2 separate regions of the Homo sapiens genome follow, and region 1 is linked to region 2. The links are contacts of gene promoters, found by promoter capture Hi-C in blood cells and fetal thymus (Javierre and others, 2016). All regions are on one chromosome and are shown on one strand. Each heading gives the region's core, a stretch centred on a gene start or on the middle of the fragment in contact. The rest is flanking DNA. Distances are from core to core; before and after follow the strand shown.

The links. Contacts are between HindIII fragments. The CHiCAGO score rates a contact against its expected background, and 5 or more counts as called.
Region 1: a fragment that was not itself captured here is called in contact with the fragment with the promoter of KLF15 in region 2 in 2 of 17 cell types (fetal thymus and naive CD8 T cells); the score reaches 5.4 in fetal thymus.

The regions. Positions count from the first base shown.
Region 1 is chr3:127,543,609-127,549,373 of GRCh38, forward strand. All of the region lies in intron 6 of LINC02034 (long intergenic non-protein coding RNA 2034), which reads left to right. Among named protein-coding and RNA genes, the nearest start is that of LINC01471, 8.7 kb to the left of the region's middle. RefSeq lists a silencer at 4,316-4,635. The HindIII fragment of the contact is 2,366 bases long and covers 2,892-5,257 here.
Region 2 is chr3:126,354,870-126,360,544 of GRCh38, forward strand. It overlaps KLF15 (KLF transcription factor 15), which reads right to left and starts at 2,539. Exons shown (of 3, transcript NM_014079.4): 1 at 2,368-2,539. RefSeq lists enhancers at 1,081-1,840, 1,841-2,600 and a silencer at 2,499-2,718. The HindIII fragment of the contact is 4,432 bases long and covers 1-4,120 here.

The sequences.
Region 1 (5,765 bases), core at 2,825-5,324, 1.2 Mb after region 2:
CTCTAGGCCATTGTTGGACTGTTTCCTCTGAGCAGGTCATGGAGTGCGTGGAACAGAGGAGGGAGGGACGGGACCTGACTTTGGGTTTAGGAGGGGGGTCCCTCTGGCTGCTATGGGGCAGGAGCAGAAGCAGCAAGGCCAGCAAGGAGGCTGCGGCAACAGCTCAGGAGTGGTGGGGCGGGTGGCCCACACCACGGTGGGAACAGAGCCGGAGCGGGAGGTCAGATTCTGGGTGTATTTTGGAGGTGGAGGTGGCAGGGTTTCCTCACAGGCCGGATGTGAGGCGTGAGGGAAAGAGAAGAGACGGGGCAGAATGTGCTCATTCACTCATTTGTTCATTCATCCTACATTCACTTTGTCTTTTTGACTAGGTGGGCAGGGAGTGTGGCAGCATTGATGAGAGTAGCTTTGTGGTAACACTCCTCTTAAACATCAAATACGCAGCCTCAGCCACACAACCAAGGAGGAAGCCGCTCTTCCAAGAGTCTCCCATCCTTCTGTCCCTCCTCCTCCAGCCTGAACCCCTGCCCAGAGCACAGGGACAGCAGGGCTCCAGAGCTTCTGACCTGCCTGGGGTGGGGGCAGGCCAGGGAAGGGTTGTGGACCATGGCCACCTGTGAACCCAGTCCTGGAGGGATGCTGGGCAAAGATGAGGCACAGGGCGAAGGTCGGAGGCAGCGGCATGCTGGCCCTTGTGCAGCGGGGCAAGGTCTGGGGCACCGAGCGGCCTCACGCACCTGGCTGGAGGCTCAACTGTCCTGAGGCCGGGCAGCCACTGCAGGATTGTAAGCGGGAGCAATTTTGTTTAAGACATCGCCCTCTGGTGGCCATGTGCAAGGTGGCCTGGAGAGACAGCCCTGGGAGGGCTGTGGCCCCAGCTAAGGCAGGAGGAGGGCTCAATCAGCCATCTGTCACCTCACCACAAAGAGGACAGAAGGCCCTGTGCCCCCTCCCACCCAGACCCTCACACTGCCACTGTGTGCTGAGCCTGTCCCTGCCCCACTGTTCCCTCAGCCCTGGTCCCAACCTCACTGTGACCTTGGGCAATTTCCAACCCTCACAGCCTCCATGGAAGAGCAGGGCCCCAGGGTCTCTCAGCCAGAAGATCTACCAGTCCTAAATCCACACTTCTTTTTGCAGAGCCCAGCAAAACTGGGCAAGACAGGCCTGCACCCCTCAGGAGGGCTGTGTCTACCGTGGTAGTACAGCTGAGCGGCCTGATTTCAGCATTTTTAAACAAAGCCTCCAGATGGACTTTGTCTGCCTGCTGGGGAGGGCTGGGCAGCTGCTGCACTCAGGGACTTTCCTCTAATTGGATCCCCTGGAAAGGAGAACAGCCCCAATCCCAGCCAGCCCATCCATCCATCCATTCATTCATTCCTTGAGAACCCATCATGTGAATCAGGGCCCTGAGCTGGGGTCTGGGTGAGCAGGAAGAGGAAGGGCTGCACAGATGGCGCACACACTTGGGCGGGGAGACCCACGGTCCTAGGCAGGCAGGGATCCGAAGCATCATGAGGAAGGCAGAGATCCAAAGCATCATGCAGGAGGCAGAGTTAAGCAGGGTGGAGCGACCGAGCAAGTGCTTCTCCGAGGAGGTAACATTTAAGCTGAGGCCTGAATGGAAAAATGGAGCCAGCCACACCACAGTCTGGGGAGGTGCTCCCAGAGGAGGGGACTGCAAGTGCAAAGGCCAAGAGACCAGTAGGAATGGGGGCTGTTTAAGGACCAGCACCGGAGAAGGGGGAGGTCAGGATTTCAGCGGGTGCCTCTCAGGCAGGGCCTGTGTCTGTGGCAGGAATAATCTATATTTTACACCATGTGCGCTCGGAGGAGGCTGCTTCAAGCCTGCTGGAGCCGCTCCCTCTGCTGTGGTGGGGACTAATGATACCACTCGTCTGTGCACAGCCGCTTTATTATTACTTATTGGCCCACATGATCCTCCACCAGGAGGAACTGTTAGGCTTATTTAATGGATCAGGAAACTGAGGTTCCGAACAAGAAGCAGAGCTGGATTTGAGCAGAAACAGCCATTCCAGCTGAATTCAGCCCTTAGAACTAGTTTGTTTTACCTGTATAGCTTTGAAAATTTGAATCCGTTGCCAACTCTACAACATTGGGAGCCTTCACGTCGAAGATGTTTTGGCTTTCGGCATCTCTTCAACAGTCTGTGGCACTGGCTATGGCAGTGTGAGCCCTGGCTCTGCACGGGGTTGTCTGCAGATGCCCCTTCAAACCAGAGGTCACAGCCCCCACTCTCCGAATCCCATGCCCCTCTGGTGTCCTGCCCTGCTCCCCCAGCACCTGAGTTTGCCACCTGGGCCACCTCTGCTTGAGGTGGGCTTGAGCCCACCTGCTGTGGTGAGCCCGTCTTGCTTAGCTGACAAGGGACACATACACTAGAGAGTCTCTGAGGGAACAAACAATCCTCCCGCACCACTCCCCACCCCGATTCCACGACTGTCTCCTCAGTTTCCTGCCACCAGACCTGAGACTCCCAACTGCAACTTTCAAGATGTGAATGAATTCAGAGACCCTAAGAGCCAGAGACCATGGATGGGGCTATCCTCCAAGGGGAAACTGAGGCCAGTGGGGTTCGGGGCCGGCCAGCTAGTCACTCCTGGGGCTTCTGGAGACATGCTGTGAAGAAGCACATTCTTCCCTTCACCTTGGGGCTCGGAGCCCCAGCTCTGCCTCCATTTAGCTGTGACACTTGGGCAGCAGGCCTCAGTTTCCCCAACTGTTCACTGACAGAATCACTGTGAAGTTCATGGGGGCTTCTCGGCTCACGTACCCATTGTCTCAGGAGAGGAGCAGCTTGTCTCTCTGGGTTCAAACTCAGCCTCCACTTTTAGCTATGTAACCTTGGGCAGGTAGCTTAATCTCTCTGAAGCTTGGCTTCTTCATCCAAAAAAGGAGACGCATTATTGGGATTATTATGAGATTCCAGGAGATGATTCAAGAAAAGCCCTTAGCACAGAGCAAGTGCTCAGCAAATGTGAGCAAGAGCAGGGAGTTGTGAGCTGACCCGTGTCCCCTCCCCAAGGGCTTAGGCCAAGGTCACGACCAACAGGCCAGCGTCCCAGAGAAGGCCAGGCTCTAGGCCTCCTCATCCAGAGTCCACTTGGCCGAGTGGTATAGTCCCAGACTGAGGTCACCCTCCACTCCCATGTCACTGAGTCCCTGCCATGTGCCAGGCAGCCCTGTCAGTGCTGGAGGGAGGTCCCGTGGAGACAGAGACTGGGAGGGTGCTGCCCTGAAGTTCTAGGGGGAAAAAGGAAGGAATAAATAGGGGAGTGGAACAGAAACATCCAGGGAGGAATTGGGACTACTTGGTCCATCGGGGGGAGAGAGAATTTTGGGCCATCAGGAGAGGTTGAGGGGCATTGCCAGGGAAGGGCTTTCCAGGCAAGGGAGCCACACGTGCTGGGGCAGGAGGCAGGCACAACCCTGAGGCCTTGTGGATAGCAGGAAGGCTGTTGTGCCCGCTGCAAGAGGAGAGGAGGGGAGAGGGGAGCCGCGGTGTCAGCTGGGCGGCAGGGCATTCATGGGGATTCTATTTTAAGGTGACAGGAGCCCTGGAGGGTTTGAAGCCAGCTCGGTGGTGGGCTTTCCATTCCACACCAAGGCCAGCGGCAGGCTCAGCTCAAACCCTGAGAGTCTGGCTCCAAACAGCTCCAGGCAAGAAAATGAAGCTCGGAGGGGAACTCAGGAGGGAAGGATTGGGGTTGGGAAGGTGGTGCGACTGGGGAGGGAGGGGCACAGGCTGTGGTCAATGGGTGCGGTCTGAGGCTGGGGGTGCGAGCTGGGGTCTGGAGGTGAGACACGGACTGGGTGCTGGAGAGGGGACATAAGCTGGGGTACTCAGGAGGGGTCAAGGGAGGAGGGACGGAGCTGGGGCAAGGACTGGGTCCGGGGGAGGGGTAGGGGAGTAAGCCAGGCGGTGTTGGCGCAGCTCAGAGCAGACGCACAGCCCGGGGCTGGGCAGCAGGGCAGGCGCTGCCCAGCCCCTCCGAAAGGCGCAACTGAGAGGGGCCTGCGGCAGTCCGGAGGCGCCCCCTCCTCTTCCCCTCCTCCTCCTTTCCCTCCCCTCCTCTTCCTTCCCCTCCCCTCCTACTCCAACCCCTCCTCTCCCCTCCTCTCGCTGCCTTCCCCTTTCTTTTACTCTCCCCTCACCTCCCCTCTCCTCCCCTCTTTCTCCTTCCTCTCCCCTCCCCTTGCTGTCCTCCCGTCCCTTTCCCTACCCTCCCCTCCCCTCCCCTCCGCCCCCCTCCCCTTCCGGAGCCCGGCCCCGCGCGCCGCCATGCCTGGTGCCGCACCGCCCCCTGGTGCCCACGTCAAGCATGGCGCGGAGCGACTGCACTGTGCCCGGGCTGCACTGGGGGCGAGAGGCCAGGGAGCCCCTACGGCCTCCAGAGGCCGGGCGTTGGGGGGGCCGCAGAACGTCGGGGACTCCCTTGGGACCCACGCTCAGCTCCGCCCTGCCCGCACTCGGCTGGGTCCTTGGGGCCCCTCCCCTCTCTGGATCTCGCTTCACAGCCAAGATCACCAGCTGGGAGTGGCCAAGGTCACCAGCTGGGAGTGGCCGACCCAGCGCCAGGCGCCGTCCCGCAGCGCTGTCCCCGTCCCCGCAGGCCAGCAGGCTGCACGACTGTCTGAGCCTCAGTGTCCTCATCTGTAACACGGGCATCATCATATCCCCAGCTTCAATCTTCACGTCTCAAACCATTGAAATCTCAGCAGTAAGAATCCAAGTATCCAAGTGCCAAATTCTCCATCAATGTCTACATAGTTTTGGTTTAAGTCTGTCTTTTCATGCATTTCCTTTTAGCACTGGAATGAAGTTCAAGCAACAGGCCGGTCACGGTGGCTCATGCCTGTATTTCCACCACTTTGGGAAGCCAAGAAGGGCGGATCACTTGAGCCCAGAAGTTCGAGACCAGCCTGGGTAACACAGGGAAACCCCATCTCTACAAAAAATTTTTAAAAATTAGCCTGACTTGGTGGCGCACACCTGTAGTTCCAGCTACTGAGGAGGCTGAGGCGGGAGGATCGGGAGGATCGCTTGAGCACAGGAGGTCGAGGCTGCAGTGAGCCGTGATCACACCACTGCGCTCCAGCCGGGGCAGCAGAGCAAGACCCTGTTTAAAAAAAAAAAAAAAAAAAAAAAAAAAACCAGACACACAAGCGACAGTGAACCTCAGAGGCTGGCATATAAAAAGGGTGGTTTTTGAGAAGCAAGACCCTCCAGAAGTCAAGCTTTAGCCCTATCAAAAGATGTCCAAGAAACTTTTTTTTTTTTTTTGAGATGGAGTCTTGCTCTGTACCCAGGCTGGAGTGCAGTGGCACGATCTCAGCTCACTGCAACCTCCACCTCCCAGGTTCAAGCAATTCCCCTGCCTCAGCCTCCCAAGTAGCTGGAACTACAGGCATATGCCACCATGCCCAGCTAACCACACCTGGCTAATTTTTTGTATTTTAGTAGAGACGGGATTTCACCATGTTGACCAAGATGGTCTCGAGCTCCTGACCTCGTGATCCACCCACCTCGGCCTCCCAAAGTGCTAGGATTACAGGAGTGAGACAGCGTGCCCGACCAGAAACTATCTTTAAGCTAAAAATGCACTTAAAGAAAAAGGAAAAGTCAAAAGACAAATGAGAAACTGGGGAAAATGTTTGAAACTCATTACAAAAGTCTAGCACAGGGTCAGCAGGCTGTTTGTGTAAAGGGCTGTGTAGTGAGTACTTTCAGCTTTGCAGACCAT
Region 2 (5,675 bases), core at 1,289-3,788:
TCTGTGTCTGTCTCAGTCTGTGAGATGGGGGTGCTTCCAACAGTGCCTGGTTCCTCAGGTGTTGTGAGAATTCCGTGAGCTGACGCTCACTAAGCACCCCCCTCAGGATCTGGCACACCGGCAGCACTCAGCCAGTGCCAGCCATTGGTGTCAGCCTGCAGGCACGGCAAACGTTCGGCCTCTGCCCCTCTACTGTGATGTTAAGGAATCAGGGGCCTCCAGCCCTCCTGGGACCCAGAGCAGGCCTTAGAGCCCTCCCCTGAAACGTGATCACTAACTGGCCATCCCATGATATTAAGTAATTACTGTTAATATTTTTAATTGTGATGATCATATTGTGGTTAAAGGAGGCCTTACCTTTTAAACATATAAACAGATATTGACAGATAAAGTGATCTAAAAAGTACAGTAGGGGGGCTGGAAGGAAACACCCTCCAATGGCTTCCCAAGGACAGGTGGCCCTATCTCCTCGCAGCAGCCCAGCACCTGGGCCCTTGGGACTCTCTGCAGACCTCACCACCAACTGCCTCTCTTCTAGTCCAGGTGTGCTCACTTCACTTCAGCCTCAGCCCGGGGCCACTGCCCTGGCTCTTCCCCCAGCACTGCAGGTGGGAGCTGCTTAGTTAGATCTCGGCTCAGAAGTCACCCCTGTGGGGGCCTCCAGGCCCACTCTGTTACATCATCCTATATTATACTCTTCCCTGCAGTTTCTACTGTGGGAAACTATCTTGGTGATGTGTTTGTGAACTTTCCTCCCTGTCTACCTTCCCATCAGAATATCAGCTGTCCTGACTGTTCACTCCAAGGCCATATCCCAGAGTCTAAAACAGGACCGGGCAAAATTTGCTGAATGAGTGAATGGAAGGTGCGGGGGAGAGCGGGGGAGGTCGGAGAGTAGGAATGGGTGGCCCAGGTCAGCCAACAGGGTCTTAATGCTGGGCTGAACGTCCCAAGGGGGAAGCACCCAGGCACTGACAACCCAGAAAGGGCTCTGGGATGTCCCAGGGCACCGGCATTAAAGAGAGGACACTCTAGGGCTGGAGCTGGCTCGGCCCCTGAAACACAGCAGCACGTGGGGCGGCCAGAGGCGCAGGCTGCGTGCAGGGGGAGGGGACACGCTGTTCCGGGCACAGTCCCCGGCTGGCCGCCGGACTCCGCCCCCTCCCCTGGCCCGGCCAGGCCTGCTGTTTATCCTCCCGGGGACACAGCGGCTGCAGGAACAACATGTAATTGATAACAAGCCCAGCGCCGGCCAAGGGCTTGCCATTGGGTCAGCGTGCAAATCACGGGGGTGGCGGCGGGGGCTGTCCTTCAAAATAAGAGTCTCCGGTCCCTGAGCCGCCCGCAGGCCCCAAAGTCGCAGAGTCCGGGCGTCCTCACACCTGTAGGGCGGCAGGGTCTCCCCAGGGGCCACCTGGTCCGGGGGGACAGGGGGAAGGAGATTTGAGGCTCTCAAACAATTGTTGATTTTGTCACCTCCGAGGGCCGTGGGAGAAAACAGCCCCTCTGTGCCCTCCGTGAGAGGGGGGTTCCATGAGTAACACCAAGGCGGGGAGGGAAGAGTGAACCGGACCACCATATGGGATGGGGACGGCCTCTCTGCCCCGCCGCCGCCATCCCTCGGTCAGGCCATGGCTTTGGTAATGTTCGGTCTGAGCGGACGGGGACTCAGCGTGGAGTGAGACGCGTGAACGGTGCGGGTGTGCGTGAAGGGGTGTGAGTTCCTGTCGTGTGACTGCGTGTGCGGGGCGTGGTGCGCGGCAGCCGCTGTGGCTGTGCGGGAGGCTGTCCGCGAAGGACTCGCGCGTGGAGCCGCCGTGGGTGCCGGCGGGTGAGGGGAAACGTGCGTGGGAAATGAAGAGAGCCGGCTCAGACCCCTTCTAGAGTCCTGGACCGCTGCCCGCTGGGCACCATGCCCTCGTCCCACGCCCCCCCCTTGCCCCCGACACTGCTGCGGTGACCGACAGTAACCCCTCCGTCTCCAGCCCCTCCGCCCCCCAACCCCGGGCTGGCCAGCGCGTCCGCTCTCCCCCTCCTCTCACCAGGCCGCGCCGGTGCCCACCATATGGGAGGGCCGGCCCGCAAGGCGCGCCACGGAATCGCCCGGCCAGGCACCGAGGCGGCGGCGCGGGCCTCAGCAAAGTGCTGGTGGGCGACCGGGGCGGGGGGGGTCACCTCCCCCGGGCCAGTCCGACCCCTGCCCACCTCCGCGGGGGCCCATCCCGCTCCTCCGACATTCCTCCAGCACTCGCGCGGTGCCTCCGAGAGCTGCGCGGGAGCACGGCCACGCGCCCCGAGGCCGGCCAGCCCTCTGATCACCCGGGGCCGCGTCCACGCGGCCGGCCGGCCCCGCCGCGCCTCTCCCACCTGAACTTGGCGCACGCCGGACCGGCGGCCAGGCCCCGGCGGTCCTGCGGCCGGGCGGGCTGGGCTGGGGGCGGCGGCTAGACTCTCGGTCCGGCGGCGGCCGGGGGCCGAGCCGCGGGTCCTGCGCTGGCTCGATCGCCCGCCGGCCCGCGGGTCGCTGCGGCGGAGCACTAGCCCGCCCGCAGCTCGCTGGGCACTCACTCCCCGCCGCTCACGTGACGCAGCGGGCGCCGCGAAGGCTCGCAGGAGGCTCGGCCCCGGGCGCGCGCCCCATTGGCCCGCGCTGCGCGTCACACGTCCCGCCCCGCCCTGGCCCCGCCCTGGCCCCGCCCCGGCCCGCCCGCGCGGCTCCCGGACTTGAGCGGCGGATGCTCGGGGATCCCGGAGCTGCCAGACGCGCACGCCCCCCAACACGCTGCCTGGTCCCTGGCCCGCAGCCACCTCCTTGCTTCCCACCTCTCGCCGCTGTCTCGCGGCGTCCACGAGGGCCGGCTTCTAAAGCTCGGTTCCCAAGGTGAGAACGTGAGACTGGCCTGAAGACTTAAGAAAAGCTCTGAGATCGCCCCAAAGTGCAGTCTGCGTGATTGAGCGGGAAGCGCTGGGGAGCCTGTCTGGCCCGGTCTGGCCCACGTCCCCACCTTCATCCCCAGCGCGGTACAAGCAGCTCTGTCCCCCGCTGAGTGTCAGATAAATCACTTGCCTAGAAGGACGTATTTTTGGATAAATACGGTATTGGGCTTTCAGCAGGACAATCAGTTACCCTCCGGAAATTGCGCGCGCTCTGCGCTGCCACCCTGCCCTCCAGGACTAAGGAGGTTTGCTGACCGGCCCCCCCCCCCCCCACCTGAAACCAATGACACCTTGTCTCTGGGGCACCTTTCTGAAGACCAAACAATGCTTCGCAGTCTACAAAAGCGTTCGTAGACTGCTTTAGTCCGCAGCAATCCTGGCTCGCATTTGGGTTCCCGCTTAGAGACAGGAAGAGTAAGGCTCAGAGTGGCTTGCCCAAGAAAAACACGTGGGCTGACGGTGCTAGGCACCCTGCTGTGCCCTTTAATCCACACTCCAGCTGGATCCTCAGCCAAGCACTTTACAGATGAAGAAACCGACTCAGAGAGGGCACCAGCCCTCCCCAGCCCCACAGCTGGGAAGGAGCAGGTAGAGAGGTAGAGCCAGGTCATCTTGCAGACACCCCCAGGCCACCTGTGCAGAGCTGTCCTACTGAGCTTCCTTCCTCTCCCCTCCTGGCACTGGGAGGTGGGGAGCATTTTCTCCTGCTTCTTCTTGAAGACATTGCTAGAACAGGAATTTTTAACCATACCCTTTCCAGGCTCTCTGGAATGCTATAGGTCTAGGCTTGCTTGACCAGGGATCTGGGGACACTGTGCACCAGGTCAGTGCCAGGGATTCAGCTGCTGCTGCCACTAGGAGCCAAACCAATGCGTTGCCAGAGGGCTTTAAGGACATTTGTGTTGAGGATGGTGAGAGGCTTTCTAGTTCACAGAAGTTGGAATGACCACTCTGGCATTACAGCAGCCCTGGCTAGCCTGGGCAGAACAGTGGAATTTGTCCATTTTCATAAGAGAAGAGATAGAGGCCTGTATTCCTCATTTTGTCTCAGTGCAGGTCTGGATTGGGCATAGCCACAGCACTTCTCCATCTGCCCTGCCCGCCCTCGGTCTTCACTCCTCACATACTCTCAGTCTAGTGCCTCCCATCTCCTTGGTGAAAGCTGCAGCAAAAGGTCAGAAAAAGCTTGGAAGCAAAGACACATCGTTAGCACCTTCAGCACACAGGGAGGAGGCCCCACTGGCTAGAAACTGGAGAACAGCCAAGATGGTCCTGTTAAAACCTGAGTCAGATCAGGTCCCTTCTGGGTTCAGAAGCTTCCAGCAGCTCCCAACTCACTCAGAGTAAGTAAAGCCCAAGTTTTCACCACAATCTTTAATGCCCTACAGCTAGGTACAGCATTTACCCCAAACCATATCTAAGGAGAAAAGCTCCCTCAATATAGTGGGGAGAATCTATCATTGAGATTCCTTGGCAGAAAGGAGAGAACAAAGTCAGGTGGTGCTCTTCAAAACAGATGACCAAAAACAGTAAAGATTTATCTTCATAGCAGTGAAAATCTCTAAGTTTCTTTTCTTCCAAAGCAATTCCTTCCCTACTTCTACATAATCAAGTATAGAAAAGGGCCTTGGAAGGATATAAATTATATTGGTTAAATATTGTATGACCTTGCCTATAAAACCATTTGGGCCTGGTGCCTTTTTGGAGTGATCTTTCTCCATGCTTGAATTTCACACATTTTACCAGGATATGTCTGACTCTAGCCTCCTTCTGTTTTCATTGTTACTACTCTATGCTTGGTGTATCCTTTTAATCTGGAAACTCAAGTCTTTCTTCGTTCAGGGAAACGTTCTTCTATTGTCTCTTGTTTCCCCCTAAACAGCTGCATGGATTGCTCCATCGCATACTCAGGTCTCTGCTCAGATGCCACCTTATCCCAGACACCTTCCTCACCCATCCCGTCTAAAACAGCACATCTGCTGCCCTCAGTTTCCTGGCCTCTGTTTATTTTGCTTCATGATCCTGATCTTTATATTATTTATTGATTTGTTTCTTGCCTGTCTCTCCTATCAGGAGACAAGCTCCTTAAGAGCATGGACTTGTATTTTTTTATTCACTGCTGTATCCCCAGAACCTAGAACACTTCTGAAACATGTTGAGGAAATGAGATTTTCTTCTTGCCCCAGTAAAGCTGCCAATGGATATGGGATCTTTGGAGAAGCTCTTCAAGGTCTGGTGCTCTCTTCCACAGTACTGTAGCCACCAATCTTGTCCTCATCCCCTGTTCCACACACATACCTGAGACTTCCAGCCTCCCCACTAGCTCATGCCTGCCCGGGGGTCTGAGCCCAGCCTGCCCTCTTCCAGGAAGCATTTTGAGGGCCCCATTCAGTGGCTCAATGGTCTGTGCACAAAGGGCCCACTGTGGCCATCAAGCCCTGTGACCTCCCACAGTGACTGACTTCTCCTCACCCTTCCCAGGTGGGAAGCAACAATTCCCCCTACTCTCAGCTCCCCTGTCCCCAGCCATGCTTCAAGGGTCTCTGGCCAGAGTCCCTTACCTTCTCACCACCTCTTCCTCTAAGGGCTGGGGTGCTGAAGAGATCCTACCCATTCTGGGCTCAGGAAGTGGTTTTGAGCTGGAGGCTAGGGAATAGGCAGGCAGAAGGGCTGCTGGTGCCCAGGGGCCAGGAAAAACATGCTGCAGGAGGTTCCTCAGGCTGGGCTGGACCGTTTCC